Linked DNA regions of Homo sapiens: region 2 is linked to region 1. The links are contacts of gene promoters, found by promoter capture Hi-C in human tissues and cell types (Jung and others, 2019). All regions are on one chromosome and are shown on one strand. The core of a region is centred on a gene start or on the middle of the fragment in contact, and the rest is flanking DNA. Distances in the headings are between cores, read along the strand shown. Region 1 holds the start of BTBD16 (BTB domain containing 16). Region 2 overlaps TACC2 (transforming acidic coiled-coil containing protein 2).

What was found. The method cuts DNA at HindIII sites, captures the fragments that hold promoters and counts their contacts. A contact is called where the count stands out against the background at its distance.
Region 2: a fragment that was not itself captured here is called in contact with the fragment with the promoter of BTBD16 in region 1 in 2 of the 25 tissues and cell types used here (IMR-90 fibroblasts and adrenal gland).

The regions. Positions count from the first base shown.
Region 1 is chr10:122,270,046-122,273,287 of GRCh38, reverse strand. It overlaps BTBD16 (BTB domain containing 16), which reads right to left and starts at 1,992. Exons shown (of 16, transcript NM_144587.5): 1 at 1,774-1,992. The HindIII fragment of the contact is 10,681 bases long and covers 1-3,242 here.
Region 2 is chr10:122,036,983-122,040,224 of GRCh38, reverse strand. All of the region lies in intron 2 of TACC2 (transforming acidic coiled-coil containing protein 2), which reads right to left. Among named protein-coding and RNA genes, the nearest start is that of TACC2, 49 kb to the right of the region's middle. The HindIII fragment of the contact is 3,981 bases long and covers 1-3,242 here.

The DNA.
Region 1 (3,242 bases), core at 743-3,242:
TTACCTATATCTGCATCTGTATATATATGTATGTATGTGTGTATATATATATATATATATATATATCTTTGTGTTGCTGTTTTTATTTCTATGAAATAGTCTTCCAAGTGGTATAGTTATGTCAGAGATCTGTATCTTCAATTGAAATAGTTAATACCAATTCACTTGCCCCAAAATTGCAGCAATTAACATTCCTATCACCAATTTATAAGTGTTGTCATTTTTTTCACAACATCTTTAGTACTAGGTAGTATCATCGTATTTATTTTTGCCAAGCTGGTGAGTGTCAGATGGTTTCAGATTCTTACTTTAATTTGAACTTTCCTGGCTACCAGTGGGGTTGAGCATTCTTTTATCTATTTATTGGCTGTTTAATTTTTCTTTTCTGAAAACTGCCTAATCATAGGTTTTCCGCAATTTTCTACTGGGTTACTGTAGTCTCACTAGCATTTTTTAAGGAGCCCTCTATGTACTGGGGACACTAACATTTTGTCTGCCATACATGCTGCAGAAGTGTATCATTTGTCTTTTGACTTTGTTTATGGTAAACAAATTGTTTCATTAGTATGAAAATATGTCCTGTGTGTGTGTGTGTGTGTGTGTGTGTGTATTTCCTTTGCCAGTCTCTAATTTGAAAACATATCTGGGGCCAGGCCCAGTGGCTCATGCCTGTAATCCCAGCACTTTGGGAGGCCAAGGCAGGTGGATCACCTGAGGTCAGGAGTTCAAGACCAGCCTAACCAATATGATGAAACCTTGTCTCTACTAAAAATACAAAATTAGCTGGGTGTGGTGGCGCATGCCTGTAATCCCAGCTACTTGGGAGGCTGAGGCAGGACAGTCACTTGAACTCTGGAGGTGGAGGTTGCAGTGAGCCAAACTCTCACCATTGCACTCCAGCCTGGGAAACAAGAGCGAAACTCTGTCTCGAGGGGAAAGAAAAAAGAAAAAGAAACGTGTCTGGGTACAAACATGGCCCTGGTGTTTGTACCCAGCTGCTGGTGTCTTCATCTGCAATTGCATCCATGTATGCATGTGTGTTAAGAGCATCTTTGGCTGTTCAACCAGCTTTCAGAGGTGCACTTGAGTTTACAGCAATGTGTGTTTTCCTTGATGGCTGAGTTTCCACCTTGCGTGAGGCTTCTCCCACCTCAGGTAACACATACATGCTTTTCTGATCCCTTTACCTCACAGGAGCCAGGATGATGAACTCCTCAGCTTAAAGCCCTTCACCAGCTTCCCACTGCCCTAGACATAGACCCCCAAATCCTCAACGTGGCCTTAAGGAATCTGAGAAGAGAGAAGAGGGTTCCATTCTAAAGCAGACCTGGTCAGCACAGAATAAACCCCACACGGGACTCGCTATGCCCACAGAGCACCGCTTCAGTTACAGAGAGAGGGAGGCTGGGGTTTGCACTCAGCTACCCAAAGCTCCTGCTTTCTTAGATCAATATCTAAGAACTTTTTTAGCTGATCTTGAAATCCAGAGACATCTCAATGGCCTGGAAATGTGTTCTTTTTTCATCCCACCAGGCAATCTGCCCCTTCGTGTGTTTTGAGAGCCTGTGCCAAGGTCCCTGTGGGCGGGCAGGAGCTACCTACAATGGTCTCTCAGCTCCCAGACCCCTCCTGATTCCCTAAACTCCCTCCCTGCCAAGTAGACCAGAGGCACCCAAGTCTAACACTGGGTCTAGACAGGTGCTAAGACAGCACCTGTCACTAGGACACATTTCTTGGTCTCTGAAGTGGCTGAAAAATACCCATTGTACTTACCGTTCCAAAGCCCTTTTGCCCACCACAGGCGTGTTTACAGGGGAAGTGTGCTGAGTGGAGGAACTCCCATCACACTGGCCTCTGAGTTACAGGAGAGCTGGGGGCGCCTTCTGAGCCTGAAGCCTGGAAGCGCTCATCACATCTGGGGCTCCCCCTTTTCTTCTTATGGGCCAAGGTGCTTTGACAGGGGGAGCTTGCCTTGGTTTCCTGGGTGGTTGTGAGCACCACGGCAACGGCAGGGAAGCTTCCAAGCACTTCCTGTTCCAGGGCCAGGTTTCAACTCAGGCTCGGGCTGTGTCCAAGGCCCTGGCTGATGGGGAGAAGCTGTGAGTGATGGCATCTCAGAGACCAGTGTGGGTGCCATGTGCCTCCATTCCTGTTCCTCACAGCACCTGGGGCAACCCAGGGCACAGCCTCAGTGAGAACCAACCCCCAAATCTTCAGGCTTCATCTGTCAAAGGAGAAGATTAGACTAGAAGCTTCTCAGATGCCTCCCAGCTCTGGCATTCTGGGGTGCTCTATTTCTAGCATTTTCTATCTGTGTTTTGACAAACATATTTCAATAAAAATTGAGCATTCCGCATTATTAAAAGCTATGCCTAATGAAGTACTTTGCTGATGATGATTTTTAATGCTGCTCTCTCTGGGAGCTAAGGACTGCCTAAAAGTCAAGGACAAGACCAAGAGCCTTCAAGCTGGCATCCAGAGTGGAAATGTTTGGGATTTGTTTGTTTTGTTTTGCTTTTTTTTTTTCTCTGAGATGGAGTCTCACTCTATCGCCCAGGCTGGAGTGCAGTGGTGTGATCTTGACTCACTGCAACCTCCGCCTCCTAGGTTCACCGGGTTCAAGCAATTCTTGTGCCTCAGCCTCCTGAATAGCTGGGATCACAGGTGCCCGCCACCACACCGGCCTAATTTTTGTATTTTTAGTAGAGACAGGGTTTCACCATATTAGCCAGGCTGGTCTCGAACTCCTGACCTCAGGTGATCTGCCCACCTCGGCCTCCCAAAGTGCTGAGATTACAGGTGTGAGCCACCGCACCTGGCCCTAAGTGCAATCTTACAGTGTCCTCAGCGACGTGGCCTGTGAAGCCCATGACCCAAACTAGGGGATGGGGAGGTGGAGGCCATGTGGGTCAGAGTCACATGGGTCACCACGGGTCCATCAAAGGCCTGGACCACCACCCCAGGGATCACAGAAATCCCTAGTTACAGTAATAGGAACCAGGAGGCAGTACAGCTTTTAAGACCCAAGGCCAGCCTCTCCTAGGCCACATACATCCTAAAGTAAAACGGGAAAGTAGCTGCGCTGCCTCCTGTGGCTGTGATCTAGAAACTACGAAACACTCTATAAATGGGAGGTACCCCTGAATTTGTCTCCCGCCTCAGCCCTCAAATCCTGTGATTCTACTCCTCCCAACACCATATTCTGCTTTGCACAGAAGCCGATCGCTGTGGAATGTTCTGTG
Region 2 (3,242 bases), core at 229-2,728, 230 kb after region 1:
GGACCGTGTCCTCCCACTCCCCAAACGAGTCACCCTTTAGAGCCGTGGTTATACATTTCTCTTCATTTCCAACCATCAGGTGGTGCAATACATCACCTGTGCAAGTGTACTTTAGTAACCGAGGCTGCTTAGAGCCCCCTGAGAACAGCCTCCCAGGAGGCCTAAGTGAGTCCATTCCCAAAGGAAGGAGCAAGGGTAACAACTAGGACTCAGCTTGCTGCAAAAGGCACCCACAAGGGGCTGGGCTGAGGCTCCATGGCCCCAGCTCAGTAAGAGGAACCTCCAATTAGCAGATAGAAGAGGTTTCAGGCTGAGTGTGGGAATTTTCCTCTGTCGATGGCTTCTCTTCCCTCAGGAACAGAGAACAGAACCCAAAGCTACCACTAAAATTCAGAGTTTCAATAGCATTTGTGCTGACAAAACAAGAAATCACTGTGACTGGTTGGCAGGATAGGAAGGTAAGACTGTTGTGATGTTATTAAAATTGACTACTTGAATAAGATAAATCAGTTTGTAATTAATGCAGCAATTAATTGTTTTCAAAAAGTGTCAAAAGCAAATACTGTCGAAATAAACTGCCGGCTCACTGCCTAGAGGCTCCGAGGAGAGGTCCTGTTGTGCTTACCTCCCTGCCTCCCTCATCTGCCTGAAGGCCCAGTCCTCCCAGGCACTTGTTGTCCCCCAACCCCACATCTCAGGCCGCCCCAGACCCTGCTGCCTCATCTGACCTTGTCTCCACCCCCACCTTCCAATTCCCACGCCTTTTTCTGCACTCAGATCAGCAGCCTGAACCCTCATATCCCAGGATCATCACGGAACAGACCCTTAACCTTCCCACCTTACCCATGCCAGCTGCCCTCTGAGAACCTACCAGGTTCCAACCCTCTCAAGGGGAGGCTGATTTTCCTTCCACAAGCCCAGAAGATCATGGTTTCAAAATAGAGTCAGGAGGCCAGCACGGTGGCTCACACCTGTAATCCCAGTACTTTGGGAGGCCAAGGTGAACAGATCACCTCAGGTCAGGAGTTCGAGACCAGGATGGCCAACATGGTGAAACCCCATCTCTACTAAAAATACAAAACTTAGCCAGGCATGGTGGCACCTGCCTGTAATCCCAGCTACTCCGGAGGCTGAGGCAGGGGAATCATTTGAACCCAGGAGGCAGAGGTTACAGTGAGCCAAGATTGTGCCACTGCACTCCAGCCTGGCTGACAGAGTGAGACTCCGTCTCAAAACAAAACAGAAAAAAAGCAAAAAACACATGAGTCAGGAACCTTGTGTCCCCCGCCAATGTTCTTTCTAAGCCATTTCACTTCCCCCACCTGCAAAACTCAATGTCCCTTTAATGCAATGATGCTGTAACTGAGTATCCCATTTTTCTAAGAGAAAGAAAATGGTTTTAATTATTTTTTTTCTTTTCTCTCTCCTTCTTTTCTCATGTTCCTCACTTCCTACTTAGCGCTTTAGAAATGCAATTATAACCTTATAACCTTGACCTTCCCTTCACCAGACACTCCCTATAGGACAAGCTTATCTGACTCTGTGCTCACTTAGAAGCTCCAGAGCCAGAAAGCTCTCCCAGCAGGAGATTGCCTCAAGAAACAACTGTCAATTTCCAACCTCAAGTACGCCCACGACGGAAGTCTTTCCCACCTGGAGAGCGTCTCAAGACAACGACCACCTTAGAACCTAGTTTTGTGCCAGCTGGACCACCTGGTGGATAAGGCACTGAAGTGAGTCCAGTGGTCCCCCACCTACTCACTCCCTCCCCACCTGCTGTGCATGCAAAGTCCCCCCTTTAAAAGTCCCTGCTTTCTGCCCCAAAAGCAAAGCAGTGCCCTTAAAAGCAGAAGCCTGTACTTTTCCCCCTAAGCTAAGCTTTAGAATAAAAAGTCACTTTTTTCATGTCAGCCCTCACTCGTTTTTTGGTTTGTGTGTTTGTTTATTTGTTTTTTGAGACAAGGTCTCACTCTTGTCACCCAGGCTGGAGTGCAGTGGCGCCATCTTGGCTCACTGCAACCTCTGCCCCCTCTCCCCCAAGGGCTTAAGTGATCCTTCCACCTCAGCCTCCCAAATAGCTGGGACCACAGGTGCACACCACCACACCCTGCTAATTTTTTGTATTTTTAGTAGAGACAGGGGTCTCGCCATGTTGCACTGGCTAGTCTCAAACTCCTGTAGCTCTTGTTAATTGGACTGTACAAGTGGTGAGTGACTGAAGCTTTGGTTTGGTTACAGTGCTACTGAGTGCACTCCTTTTATTCTCTGAGGTATCTCCTACAAAAACAAACAAACAAACAAACAAACAAACAAAAACCAACAAAAAGCCTCACCTGGGAGCCTCTGGCCTCCCAGGCTTCTTGCTCTCTATTATCCCAGGACCTCAGCCCCATCCAGAATAATGAGCCAAACACTGCTAAGGGGCTCTGCCCCTTGATCATTGTGTACAAGAGAAAGACTCAGGCGCCGTGACTGTTGAGGTGCAAAGAATAACCCAATACCCTGAGCTTGAAGCAGAGGAGATTTACTCACACGGATGGGTATACATGAGGGACTGCAGCCCCTGCAAAGGCTCAAAGACCATCTCTCTGAACAAGCCACAGGGACTCAACAAAGCAAAAGCCAGGGAGTTTTACAAGGAAATGTGGTTGGTTGGTTTTAACCAGTCCTTCGCTTGTCAGTTTCCAATTGGCCGGTTATGGGGAGCTCAGTCTGGCTGAGTGCTGAGTCTCAAGTCCGCTGAGCCCAGACAGAGCTGGGCACAAGTTCACCGTCAGCTGCTCTGCTTCCTCCTTGGGGAGCCCTGACTGCTGGAGTCTCACCCCCATGGTGAGTGAGCATACAGGCTCAAATCCCAGTGAAATGCTCTTTTATCACCATGGCTTTGTACCACAGGTAGAAGAAAGCCAGACTTCTTACCAGGGCTGGTTGGGACCTACAAAACTGAGCCCTCACCCAGCTCCCTGGCTGCACAGCTCACCATAATTTGCCTCACCCACTTTTCTCCAGCCACACCGGCCTTCTTTGCTGATCTTAAAGTACAGCAAGCTCATTTCTCCCATACCTGTTACACTATTCCTATACCATACACACCTGTTACCTTATTCCAGAATGTTCCTTTTCCAGAACCTTATGTGGCTGTCTCCTTAGTACACCAGGTCTCTACAGAGAGCTGTCCCCTGCACTTCATCAAAAATAGCCCCGACCACAATGACACTACTTCACACCTACAAGCATGACTG